4 separate regions of the Homo sapiens genome follow, and all the other regions are linked to region 1. The links are contacts of gene promoters, found by promoter capture Hi-C in human tissues and cell types (Jung and others, 2019). All regions are on one chromosome and are shown on one strand. Each heading gives the region's core, a stretch centred on a gene start or on the middle of the fragment in contact. The rest is flanking DNA. Distances are from core to core; before and after follow the strand shown.

Region 1 (3,345 bases), core at 485-2,984:
GCTGCGCGCGAGGAGGACCCGGTGCCCGCGCGCTCAGCTTGGCCCGCGCGGAGGAGCCCAGGTTGTGGGAAGACTAGACCTGGACCCCGCAGGGGTGGCCTTCTGTGCCCCTCCCCGCCCCCAGACAAAGCTCCTTCCTGACACTCCTCTGGGGCGAACGAGCATCAGGTAGCCAATCTACACCCCTGCACCCCCCCCCCAAAAAAGTTTTAACTAGAAGAAGGGGTGGCAAATGCGGCGTGGTCTTTTCCAACCCCAGCGCCGAGGAGGAAGTGCAAGTCCCGGGAAAGTTCAGTTCCCAGAGCCGAGAGTGGCTGGAAACTTCACACTAACCTGACTTAACCTGGAAACGTGGAGCGCGTACTCCGAACGCACCCAAGGCGTCCAAAAAGAGACCACACTAAAGAACTCGCGTGGGAGAAGAAAACTGGGGAGAAAACGAGGCATCGTCGGGCCACCCAGCGACCCCCCTCCCCCGCAGCTTTCTGGGTCTTCACCCAGGCTGGAGACACAACCCCCACCCCCACCCCCGCAATCCCGCCCCGCCGCCTTCCCGCTGCTCCACCTCTAGCCAGAGGCTGGAGAGGGAGGGGGCCGGAGAGGGAGGGATAATAGAGGGCAGGAAAGAGCAGGGCCGTCTGCCCTTTCCTCCACCCGGGGAAAGAGGCCCGCAGAGCCCAGAGGCAGCAGGGCCAGGGTCCGACCCCAGACGAAGTTGGAGCTCCTCACTCTTACCCCGCCCTCCCCGGGACCGCCCGCAAAGCAGAAAGTGAACTGCGCGTCCTCCTTGGCCGCAGAGAGGTGGAGGCGGGGGGTTGGGGGTGGGAGGTGGGGGGAGGCGGAGTGAAGGAAATAAATGAGTCTTTAGCAAATAAAGGGCGGCTGGAAGGGGGCGGGTCGCTTGGTGGTGGCTCTGGCCGGCCCGGAGCGGAGCTCTCTCCTGGGTTTTGGGCTCTCTCGCGGTTAACTGGAATCAATTACTTGCCTTGTCATTTCTAGCACTCATCCTTAAGCCTCAACCAAAATATTGACCTAGGAGGCTTACAGAAGTTGGGCTCTTGCCATTTGAACCGGATCTTGTTTAGGCAACCACCAACGATGGAAAGGAGAGATTTCCGCAGCTCGGCCTTCGCCCCCTCCCCCTTTTCCAAAGGCGCCACAAATCGCCAATTTTCCGGCTTGCCGGGGGTGGGCGCGCGGGGGCGGGGAGGTAGGAACCGGTGAATGTTAAAGAGGATTTTTTCCCTCCTCCTGGTTTCTGTTTTGTTTTCTCCCCTCCTCCTCCCCACCCCCACCTTTTTTAAGATGCAATTTGTTAAAACGGCCCTTTCAAGTGTGTGGACTCGCGAGCGACGCGGTGGCCCTTTGTATGTAAATACTGGGTTTAAAAAAAAAAAGGCTCGCCCCGTCTTTGCAATTAATTGACACGTTACACCTCTCATCTTGCTCTAGAGGGCCGTTGGCTGGGAGCGCGGAGCTCCCCAAAACCCACAATTTCACATCTGCAAATACTGTCTTCATCCACTTGACTCCCAAGACCCGCCCACACGTGGCCAACCTTTGCGTTTTTAATGTCTCTTCCCCCTTTTTTCCACCCTTCTCCCGCTCCCTCTCTCGCTCCCCCTCCCTCCCTCTTTCTTTCCCTCCCTCCCTCTCTTTCTCCCCCTCTCCCCGCCTCCCCAGGTTCGTGAGTGGAGCCCAGCCTTATATGGACTGATCGCTCGGGCAATGGCCCATTTTTTCCTCGCCACCAGCCGCCACCGCGCGCCGAGCGGCCGCCGGAGCCCGAGCTGACGCCGCCTTGGCACCCCTCCTGGAGTTAGAAACTAAGGCCGGGGCCCGCGGCGCTCGGCGCGCAGGCCGCCCGGCTTCCTGCGTCCATTTCCGCGTGCTTTCAAAGAAGACAGAGAGAGGCACTGGGTTGGGCTTCATTTTTTTCCTCCCCATCCCCAGTTTCTTTCTCTTTTTAAAAATAATAATTATCCCAATAATTAAAGCCAATTCCCCCCTCCCCTCCCCCAGTCCCTCCCCCCAACTCCCCCCTCCCCCGCCCGCCGGGGCAGGGGAGCGCCACGAATTGACCAAGTGAAGCTACAACTTTGCGACATAAATTTTGGGGTCTCGAACCATGTCGCTGACCAACACAAAGACGGGGTTTTCGGTCAAGGACATCTTAGACCTGCCGGACACCAACGATGAGGAGGGCTCTGTGGCCGAAGGTCCGGAGGAAGAGAACGAGGGGCCCGAGCCAGCCAAGAGGGCCGGGCCGCTGGGGCAGGGCGCCCTGGACGCGGTGCAGAGCCTGCCCCTGAAGAACCCCTTCTACGACAGCAGCGACAACCCGTACACGCGCTGGCTGGCCAGCACCGAGGGCCTTCAGTACTCCCGTAAGTAGCAAAACTTGGCTGCCGAGGCCGTGGTCCCCTCCATTCCTGCAGCCGCAGCCCGGGTTGGACGCTGGGAGTGAAAGGGGAAGGGGCCATGTAAGCCCGGACCCCCTCACTCGGATCCGTAGAAAGATTTTTAACACCTGTATAGGATGTCCTCTGCCCTCCTCTTCAAGCCTCCTTAGTTCCGGGAAAGAACTTGGTCTCCAAAATTTTTTTCAATGCGAGAAGTTAAGGAGAAAGAGGGAGAAGGGCTATACCTCCCAGGGGCTGGTATATGATGTCAACCCGGACCGATGGCTCCAGCCGCAGCCCCCGGACTCCGGCCGCTGGGAGGGACTGGCCTGGCGCCCTGGAGGTAGCCAGCGAGCCTCGTCCGGGTACGGGTGGAGGGTGGGGAGGCTTCGGGTGGCCCGGGTATAAATAGCTCACCCTGCCCCCTGCGCGATCATAGAGGACGCTTTGTGCAGTGCAGGGGGTGTCTAGAAGGCCCGAAAGCAGAAACGAAAGCCCCCAAAAACCTGCCTTAAATGGCCGAGCCGATCAATGCTGGGATTGTGGGGTATTTCTTTTAAAAATCTGCCCACGTCTCGCCGGAGAGGAAACCGCTTAAGGGCGCCGGAGCCCTTAACCCGCGATGATCTTCAGTGCCACTTCCCCCCCCAAATTCTCACCCACACTATGTGAGCCCCTTGAAAGGCGAGCCCCTAGCCCCCACTCCTACGGATTTCCCTCTTTACCCTGGGAGGTCCCGACGTCTTCGTCAGGCGTAGAGGAAGGCAGGGGTCATGGCAAAGGCAGCGGGGCTGGGCTGCCAGGCGCGGAGGTCCAGGGTCGCACGGAGGATCCAGGGTGCTCCGAGTCTGGTGCAGGCTGCGCGCGGCCTCCAGACGCCTGACGCGCTTCTCTCTCCCCCTCCCCCCAGTGCACGGTCTGGCTGCCGGGGCGCCCCCTCAGG
Region 2 (3,345 bases), core at 271-2,770, 240 kb after region 1:
ATGTCACTCAAGTTTGGGAACTGCTGCTCAAAAAATTGTGGCAGAGTCAGGGCTGCACCCTCTAACAAGCCAGCCGGCGTCCCAGCATGCAGCCAGCCAGGGATCTGGAAAGGGAAGCATCTTCTACCATGGGGACTGGGACTGTTCCTGCTTCAGGTCTTGGCCACTCCCAGGTTTGCCCAGAGCCAAGTGTTCAGGTGACCCAGGACCTGCAGGAGAAATCACCAAGAAGAGGTTATGTGCACAGAAAATTCACACTGGATGGGGCAAGCCAAGATGAGTGACTATCTGCTGTCTCCAGTGGTTCCCCATGCTACACCTGATTCTGTTTTCAGAGCCATCTTCTTGGGATATTGGTTCTTCGCCTGATTATGTCTCATCTGACAGGTGAGGAGGCAGGGAATTCAAAGCAAACAACTATGCAAAGCCCCACAGAACATCCTTTTGGGGAGAGGGTCAAGGGCTCAGGGATGGTGGGTGGGGGCAAAGAGGGAGGAGCTTCTCCTGGACCCCCACCCCACAGTGGGAATGTGGCCACCTCAGAACTTATGTTTATAACCACTAAGTTGGCCATGATCCCAAACTGCAGCTATAATAATATTTGATATCTATTTTGAAATCTCAGAACAAAGCTTTGGCTGCCCTAGAAAAGGGACTGGCTGTGTTCAGCAGATGGAGGCTGAGTTAGCATGGAGGGGTCAGGAGTGGTCACAGACAAGCCTTGTGATCAAGCTATGCAAATAGGCACCCATGTGCTATTCTGGACTCAGGGCCAACATCATTTCCCATTTTCTGAAAAGAGAGCCTTGGAATGACTTTCACCTTAGCCTCTTTAGGAAATTAAAGCCTGGAGCTGTGACGAATGCCTTTCTGACCAGGGCAGCACAGGCAGCGTAAAGATCTACGCGCTTCTTATTTAATGATGAGCTCAGGCCAAGATCAGCCTTCAAGGGGAAACCACTGCGTCTCCTTTCTGCTCACTCCAGAGCAGGGCTTGAGAGTCCTACTGGGCTGAGAGGCTCTTCAAGGATCTCAAGTTTACCCAGCAGAGATGATATTGACCTTCCGTTTTTAATCAATGGTTCGTCCCCTGAGGCCACACAGAAGATGGAGACTGCAATCTGTCCTTTCGCCTTCTTTTTTCTAAGTCCTTTCCCAGGTCTGACAATGCTGTTTCCTTGGGAAAAAATAGGTAAACATTTACATCAGACTCCCAAGGTCCTAGTTATAGCCAGTGGGGTCCCACAGCCTTCTGTTTTCTTATGGTCTCCTGGGGGAGAGCATGGAGGAGGGGAGCCATCTAAACCAAGGGTCATAGTTCCTTTCCCTCCTTAGAGGACTGGCAGAATGGGGACTCACAACATAAAAGGATTGAGATCACCGTCAACCTTTGCATATCTTTGTGAACAGTTTAACGTTTATTACAGTAAAATAATGACTTTCACACCATGTAAAGGCAGTATAAACTCACCAGTAACCTTCAGCATCCTCCCCTGCGATGTCAATAAGAAGCTTGTGAATTTACTCAGCTTGGGAGCAGATAATGCCCAAACCAAGGAGAATTAGTGTGTGTATGCCCGGTTCTTCATGCAAACAAAAAATTGATTTCAATGCCATGACTAGCGTTTCTAGACTCACATATCCTGGACTCCTCTGGGTTTCTGGAAATGTCCTACTGCCTCTTCCACCAACAGGGGCAGGAAAGGCCTGTGTTGAGTTACTATCCCTCTCTCCTGATACTGCGCTGCAAAAACTGTTTTACTTTCCTCTTCCCTTCTCCCACTCCAGGTCTCACTCCTTCTAAGCAACACCCTGCAGAGTGATGCATCTCTACCCAGAAAAGGTCCACTGAAGGAACCAGACGTTTCCACAGGAGAAAGGCACAGCATGGAATTACTATACAGAGAAATACATGAGCCATCAAGAAATAAAGTGAGAATGTGGATGAGGCCCATGAAGAAGCCAATATGCCAAACAGTGAGCACACCAGGTGTGTATGTGTGACCAGAAATGAAAACAGTTTCTGTGAAAGCACATTTTAAAATAGACAAGAACAGTTAGAATAGTGTTCGCCACAAGTAAATGACTTTTACTGAAACTTATAACCTGAGAAATAGGTAGAACAGGTGTTGTTCCCAGTTCAGAAAGGAGCAAAGAGTTGCCCAGGTAATAATCACACCATGAGACAAGGTCTGGCTCTGTCACCCCGGCTGGAGTACAGTGGCACTATCACAGCCACTGCAGCCTCAACCTCCTTGGCCCAAGCAATCCTCCCACTTCAGCCTCCTGAGTAGCTGGGATTACAGGCATATGATACCATGCCTGGCTAATTTTTGTATTTTTAGTAGAGATGAGGTTTCACTATGTTGGCCATGCTGGTCTGAAACTCCTGGGCTCAAGCAGTCCTCCCACTTCTGCCTCCTAAAGTGCTGAAATTACAGGTATGAGTCACTACTCCCAGCTGACTTCTAGTGAGGATCTTTTTTCTTTAGTGAAATAAATGCCTTTCAGGAATTCTTCACATTCATGAAAGCCAAATGCAATGAGGAAGCCTTAAGTAGCTCCTTGAGTTAAAAAAAATATGCTAGAATAGAAGATGTTTGTACAAACTGGGAAATGTGAATGGACTATATATTGGATGGCATTCTTGAGTTAGTGTCAATGGTCTTCATGCGATGATAGTGTTGTGACTAGGGAGGGGCCATCCTTGTTCTTTGGAGATGCTGGCTGGGGGACTTAGGCCATAAGGAAAGAAGTGACCACAGAGGAAAGGAGGGTGAAGGCATCAGGGGACCTAGCTGGTCTGCTCAGGACTCCACTCAGCCAGATGGAAAACGCAGTTCTGAATATCTATTGCTGTGTAATAGAGCAGCCCAGAACATGGAGCATAAAAAACAACAATTGCTTCTTTGCTCCAAGTCTGCGCTTCGGGCAGGTGCTCCTCTCTGGTCCTGTGGCATCACCTCTGGTGCTCCAGTGCTGGGGGCTGAAAGGAGTCACTTGCTGTTGCCTGGGTTCCTGGGTTCTCTCCACATGTCCTCTCCATGTGGTGAGCTTGGGCTTCCTCACAGCATGGTTGTCTCGGAGTAGTTGGCCTTCTTACGTGACAGCTGGCTTCCCCTAAAGTGCAAAAATAGAAGCTGCCAGAACTTCACAGGGCTTAGGCCTAGAACCAGTGCTATGTCACTTCTGCCACAGTCACAGAGCCAAGCCAGCTTCAAAGGAATTAGATACAAGGAGAGGCTTATGGGGGTTGGGGGTCACTAAACAGACAGCTTACCACACACAGGGATAAGGAGCTATGGTTAGTGGAAATTTACCGTAGGCCAACATCCACAGGAACAG
Region 3 (3,345 bases), core at 380-2,879, 220 kb after region 1:
TAAAGTATAATAATAATAAAATTTTTAAAAAAATGTGGAAGCCTCTCTGGTTATCTGTAGGGTGGAATTCACACTCCCGAGTCTAGCATCCTTGGCTCTCCACTGTCTGCCCTTATTTCACTTTCCAGACTTGGCCTTCCACTGACCTGGTAAATGCTTGCTTCACTTGCTCACTCACCATTGAACCACTTGCTTATCCACAACTGAGCCATACATGACAGTGCTTCCAGGGCTGCAAATGGACTTAGGCTGGCCCGGTGCTGCTTTTTGCCTGGCTTTCCATGTGGCCAATGACACACAATGACCAACCAAAAGGTCAGGGTTAGGATCAACAGGATCTAGGTTAGGCATCAGCATGGATGTGTGACTCACTACCTTCTTAAGACAAATTTCACAGACATTATCCATCTTGAAATTTTATTTGTCTCTAAGGAGAGCCATACCAAACATGTTTCTAGGATTTTAGAAATCCCCCTTTTCTTTTTATTTATTTTTATTTTACTTTTTTTTTTTTTGAGACGGAGTCTCGCTCTCTCGCCCAGGCTGGCGTACAGTGTTGTGATCTCAGCTCACTGCAGCCTCCCAGGTTCAGGTGATTCTTCTGCCTCAGCCTCCCAAGTAGCTGGGATTACAGGTGTGCGCTACTACGCCCAGCTAATTTTTGTGTTTTTAGTAGAGATAGGGTTTCACCATGTTGGCCAGGCTGGTCTTGAACTCCTGACCTCAGGTGATCCACCCGCCTTGGCCTCCCAAAGTGCTAGGATTATAGATGTGAGCCACCTCGCCCAGGCAGAAATCTTGTTTTTTGAAAGGAGGGGAGTACAGAGGGCATTCTCTCTTCAAAGATTCATTCAACAAACATTTGGTGAGCATCTACTATAAGCAAAGCTTTGTAGGAGATACAAATGTACTGTCTCTGCAGGATGGCTGAGAGTCACTGCCTTTGAAAAGGGAGGAAACCAGCAGAGGCTCTTAGAGAGCCTGAAGAAACTCAGTGGACTGATGTGATTTTAACTGAAGCACAAACTGGAAAATTGGAATGTATGGTTCATGACAATTACAAAGAGAAAGAAAAAGAAAAATGCAACCCATCCCGTCTCATTATTCATTCATTGCTTAAGCAAACAACTTAAATCATCTATTTGGGTGATGCTGAATTTGAATGAAGTCTGTGCCTGTTAGTAGTATCATCATGGGCAAGATTTGGTTCCATAATGTCTCCTGGGCTCAGCTGTGGTTTCTTCAAGGTAATGCTAGTCATGAAGATTAAAACCAGATAGGAGGGGGGTGAGGGGAGAAGAATTATGCATTTTTTAAATCACCGACGGCCAATTTTGCTTAGTAAGACAATGATATCAATTTGAAGGAGAAAATACATTAGGAATTTAGTATACAACGTGTTTAAGCACCATTTCTCATTTCTTCTATTTTTTAAAAACCTGATTTGCACTGTTCTGTGAATCCCCATACTCTTTTCTGAAATGAGTCTTCCACCTGGACTAGTGTGTTTCTTTGTCCTAACACATGTTACTTAAATAGAATCAGTCAATAAACTTGAATAATAACTAAAACAGGGAATGGGACACTTGTATTATGCAAAAATGAGTCATTATCTGGCTATGGTTGACAATGTGGGAGCTGCTTATAGTGTAGAATTTAGTCCAGCACAATAGAAGAATGCCTTAAATTAATGAGTGCTCTCAGAAATGTAACAAAGGTTCCAGTGAATGGCAGGAACACGTTTCTATCTGTTTATCATGGAATCACTTGCTTAAAGAGAACCAGCTTAGAAATCACTACCTTTTACAGAGAGCACGTTAGCCTATGGTTAGAAAAAAAAAAGGGGATATTATGACACCCAAAGATGAGGAATATTTTTATGTGGCTGATCCTACCACAAAAGGTAAAACAAATGACCTAAAACTCCAAAGAAAATGCATTTTCCTTCTGTCTAGTACAAAGACAACCCTCAAAGTGTGAGCCTGACTTTTAACATCCAATTCAGAGTCAATATTGTTTCTGACATCTCATTCATTTCTACCTAACTGCACTGCCAGGCTAGGAACACTCCTTTCCTAAAAGATGCTGCACTTGACGGAGGAGGCAGCCCTGCTGCAGAAGACCGAGAGCCTGGAGCTCTTGCTAGTGACCCATGTCACATGGCCTGCCTTCTAAGCCTGCTGCTGTATGTCCTTGAACGAGCCTCTCATCTTCTTTAGATCCCACTACCCTCACCCAGAAAATGAGGAGCTAAACCGAGTCACCTCTAAGGAGCCTTCCAGCTCTCATGAGTCAGGATGAGATGCTCTCTCCCTTGTCTCAATGCCTGTGACATTGGTGATCTGCATTTAACGCACTGATAACTGTTATTTATCAATGGTCTGATTGCCACTGGTTTTCAGCTATGTAGGCTCCGCCTCCCTTCCTGGAGTTACTCCATTCATTTAATTACCTTCAACAACTCCTGACTAAGCAGCTGATGTGCATCAGATGTGTTTGTAGGTGCTGGGTGGACAGCACAAAGTGCCTGCTCATATAGATTTTACAGTCTTCTTGGGGTGGCAGGTTGGGGGAGAGAGAGACAGCAAACAGGTGGAAAAGACAATATATCATGCTGTGACGGGTTGTGATAGGTGCTACGAACTAAAATAAAACAGGGCAAAGGGACGGGGAGTGACCATAACTGGGGAGTCGAGTGCAGTTGTGCAATCACAGCTCACAGTAGCCTCAACCTCCTGGGCTCAGGCCATCCTGTAGTCCCAGCTACCGAGTAGCTGGGACTACAGGCTTGTACCACCACGCTCGACTACATTTAAAAAAATTTTTTTTTGTAGAGATGAGGTCTTGTTTTGTTGCCCAGGCCGGTCTCGAACTCCTGGGCTCAAGCAATCTTCCTGCCTTAGCCTCCCAAAGTGCTGGGATTTCAGGTATAAGTCACTGTACCTGGCCCATTTTTCTATTTTTATTTATTTATTTATTTAGAGATGGAGTCTCATGCTGTCACCCAGGCTAGAGTGCAGTGGCACAATCTCAGCTCACTGCCACCTCCACATCCCAGGGTCAAGTGATTCTCCTGCCTCAGCCTCCTGAGTAGCTGGGACTACAGGTTCCCACTACCCTGCCTGGCGAATTTTTGTATTTTTAGTAGAGATGGGGTTTCAACATGTTGGCCAAGCTGGTCTCAAACTCCTGACCTCAAGTGATTCACCTGCTTCAGCCTCCCAAACTGCTGGGATTACAGGCATGACCCACCACACCCAGCCCCATTTTTCTATTTTTTAAATTGGAGTGTAACTGACCTACCATATGATGCACAGTTAAGTGTTCAGTTGACAAGCTGTGACA
Region 4 (3,345 bases), core at 504-3,003, 190 kb after region 1:
GAGGTCTGGAGTATCCCACTTACAATTAAGAACACAAATGCTTAGAGAGGTTAAGTGGCTTTTCCAAAGTCACACTACTATAGATTCAGGAACTAGGATTTAAAACCATGACTCAGAGATGGTACCTTAACCAGTATGTTAGACTAATTAATTGTAATTTCACTAGATTCAAAGTGATGTGTACCAAGGTCTATATCAGGTACTACAGAGGATACAAAATAGGCAAGGTGTGTGACATTGATCATCATTTGCTAAATAAAGTCTTATCAGAAGATTTTATTCTAACATGACAGCATGAAGAGCTTCAACGACCTGCTCCCCAGTGAAACTGGTAAATATTACTTTTAAAACAAAAACATTTAAAGCCTTTGGAAATGATCCTGAGGGCAAACAGCAAGCAAATCAAGAAAACCTGTAAAAATTTTAGAACAAAATTCATTTGCAAAAGTGCACAGTAAAGTTTAAAAAACAAACAAAAAAAAGCTGTTCTCAAGAACAGTGAAAGTAGAATGAGGCCCAGTGGCTCATGCCTGTAATCAGCATTTTGGGAGGCTGAAGCGGGAGAATCACTTGCACCCAGGAGTTCAAGGCCAGCCTGGGGAACATAAGAGTCCTGGAGCCCCATCAAGAATCAGGAAGGTACAGTGGCATGTACCTGTAGTCCCAGCTACCTAGGAGATTAAGGCAGAGGTCTGCATGAGCCCAGGAGTTGGAAACTACAGTGAGCTGATTGTGCCACTACTGCACTATAGCCTAGGTGACAAAATGAGACCCTACACACACACACACACACACACACACACACACACACACACACACACACAGCCAGGCACAGTGGCTCATAACTATAATCAGAGCAATTCGGGACACCGAGACAGAGCACTTGAGCCCAGGAGTTTGGGATCAGCCTAGGCAATATGGTGAAACCTCATCTCTACAAAAAATTAGCCAGGTGTGATAGCATACCTGTAATCCCAGCTTACTCAGGAGGCTGAGGTGGGAGAATCACCTGAGCCCCGGAAGTTGAGGATGCAGTGGGCCAAGATCGCACTACTGCACTCCAGCCTGGGCAACAGAGTGAGACCCTGTCTCAAATACAAAGAAACAAACCAAAACAGTGCAAGCTATGGTGAAGAGCAACTGGGAGGAGACTAATAGATCTAATGAAGATACAGGCCTGGACTACAGGCTAGTTTGCAGAAGAAAACTCGGGATTAAGATGGCTGGGAGGAGCCCTCCTGGTGTTAGCACAAATACCAAACACTGACGTCAGAAACTAATTCCTGGAAAGATCTACAATTTAGGAGTTCGAGATCAGCCTGGCCAACATGGTGAAACCCCGTCTCTACTAAAAATACAAAAAATTAGCCAGGTGTGGTGGTGCATGCCTGTAGCCCCAGCTACTCGGGAGGCTGAGGCAGGAGAATCGCTTGAACCCGGGAGATGGAGGTTACAGTGAGCCAAGATCACGCCACTGCACTCCAACCTGGGTGACAGCAAGACTCCATCTCAAAAATAAATAAATAAGGCCGGGCGTGGTGGCTCACGCCTGTAATCCCAGCACTTTGGGAGGCCAAGTCAGGCCGATCACGATGTCAGGAGATCGAGACCATCCTGGCTAGCACGCTGAAACCCTGTCTCTACTAAAAATACAAAAAATTAGCCGGATGTGGTGGCAGGCGCCCGTAGTGCCAGCTACTCAGGAGGCTGAGGCAGGAGAATGGCGTGAACCCGGGAGGTGGAGCTTGCAGTAAGCCGAGATCGTGCCACTGCACTCCAGCCTGGGTGACACAGCAAGACTCCGTCTCAAAATAAATAAATAAATAAATACATAAATAAATAAATACATAAATAAATAAATGATGCCAATAGGTAGTGGGATAACATAAAAAGCAGTAAAGAAGTGGAAACAAACAAACAACAACAAAAGAACCCTGTCAACCAAGAATTCTCAGTCCAGAAAAGCTATAGTGCAAAACTGGGGTGACATAAAGACTCAGATCAATAAAAAGCTGAGAGAATTATTGCTAACAGACCACACTGTCAAAAACTACTAAACGAAGTTCTTCAAGCTATAAAGTTACAAAAAGTTTACTAAAGTTACTAAAGCAAGTGACTCTAGATGGTAATTCAAGTCCATGCAAACAATAAGCACAAGTATATTTTCCCTCCTTTCTTCTCTTAATTGAATTAAAAAGCAATTGTATAAATATTACATAGTATAATGTTGAGCTTATAAGGCAGAATGTAATATATGTGTAATATATTTGCCCTAATAGCAAAAAGGGGTGGATGGAAACAAAGTTGCAGTGGGCTAAGGAAATGGCTACAGACGGTAAAGTAACTCTTAAAAAAATGTATTGTTGGATTATGTCAATATATGTAATATATATAACAATAATATACAAAGGGGGGATGGGAACTGAACTATATAGCAGTAAAGTTCAATAAATTTTAGCATGTATTACTGAAACTAAGCAAGTATAAATCTGAATTTGATTCTAGCAAGATACATAGGGTAAGCTCTAGAACAATGACTTTGAAAAAATATATAGTGGAAAAAATTACTAATGAATTTAGAATCCTTCTAGTAACTGGCCACTGAATAAGAAAAGAAAAAAATTTGAATGCTATATTAGAAAATATCCTCTCATTGCAAAAGAAAGCACAAAGGAGAAATAGAGAAAAATGACATGAGACATACAAAAAACAAAAAGTAAAATGTAACTCTATCAATAATTACATTAAAATGTGAATGGATCAAACAATCCAACAAAAAGGTAGCTTGTCAAAGTGGATTTTAAAAACATGATCTAACTCTGCGTTATCTACAGGAGATACACTTGAGATTCAAAGACCCAAAAGAGTAAAAGTAAATGGATGAGAAAAGATAATCATGCAGACAGCAACCACAAGAAAACTGGAGTGGCTATACTGATATCAGATAAAACAGACTAAAACAAATAAAAAAATGTTACTGGAGGTAAAGAGGGTCATTTTATAACGATAAAAAGTAAATCCATCAAGAAAAAGATATAACAATTAAAAATACAGGTGCACCTAATAACAGCACCAAAATACACAAAACAAGACATATGGCAATTCAACAATGATAGCTGGAGACTTCAATACTCCCCCTTCAATAATAGAACAAAACAGAAGATCAACATGAAAACAGATAATTTGAACAACACTATCAACAGAGACCTAACAGATATTTCTAGCACATTACACTTAACAGAATATACATTCTCAGGTGTACACGAAATATGCTCTCAAAAAAAGTAAAAGCATAGAAATAATACAAAGTATACACTCTGACCACAATGAAATAAAATTAGAAAC

Evidence for each region. Contacts are between HindIII fragments. The study calls those that stand out against the background at their distance.
Region 2: a contact is called between a fragment that was not itself captured here and the fragment with the promoter of NKX2-2 in region 1, in 3 of the 25 tissues and cell types used here (dorsolateral prefrontal cortex, lymphoblastoid cells and spleen).
Region 3: a contact is called between a fragment that was not itself captured here and the fragment with the promoter of NKX2-2 in region 1, in 5 of the 25 tissues and cell types used here (dorsolateral prefrontal cortex, heart right ventricle, lymphoblastoid cells and 2 more).
Region 4: a contact is called between a fragment that was not itself captured here and the fragment with the promoter of NKX2-2 in region 1, in 2 of the 25 tissues and cell types used here (heart right ventricle and thymus).

Annotation. Positions count from the first base shown.
Region 1 is chr20:21,512,453-21,515,797 of GRCh38, reverse strand. NKX2-2 (NK2 homeobox 2) reads left to right here and starts at 1,734. Exons shown (of 2, transcript NM_002509.4): 1 at 1,734-2,387; 2 at 3,313-3,345. The coding sequence starts at 2,129. RefSeq lists an enhancer at 1-37. The HindIII fragment of the contact is 15,862 bases long and covers 1-3,345 here.
Region 2 is chr20:21,271,562-21,274,906 of GRCh38, reverse strand. No RefSeq gene overlaps it. Among named protein-coding and RNA genes, the nearest start is that of XRN2, 30 kb to the left of the region's middle. RefSeq lists enhancers at 1,909-1,958, 2,019-2,068, 2,079-2,128. The HindIII fragment of the contact is 3,627 bases long and covers 1-3,333 here.
Region 3 is chr20:21,288,130-21,291,474 of GRCh38, reverse strand. No RefSeq gene overlaps it. Among named protein-coding and RNA genes, the nearest start is that of XRN2, 14 kb to the left of the region's middle. The HindIII fragment of the contact is 9,345 bases long and covers 1-3,345 here.
Region 4 is chr20:21,318,781-21,322,125 of GRCh38, reverse strand. The region is part of intron 1 of XRN2 (5'-3' exoribonuclease 2); the gene reads right to left. Among named protein-coding and RNA genes, the nearest start is that of XRN2, 17 kb to the right of the region's middle. The HindIII fragment of the contact is 8,876 bases long and covers 1-3,345 here.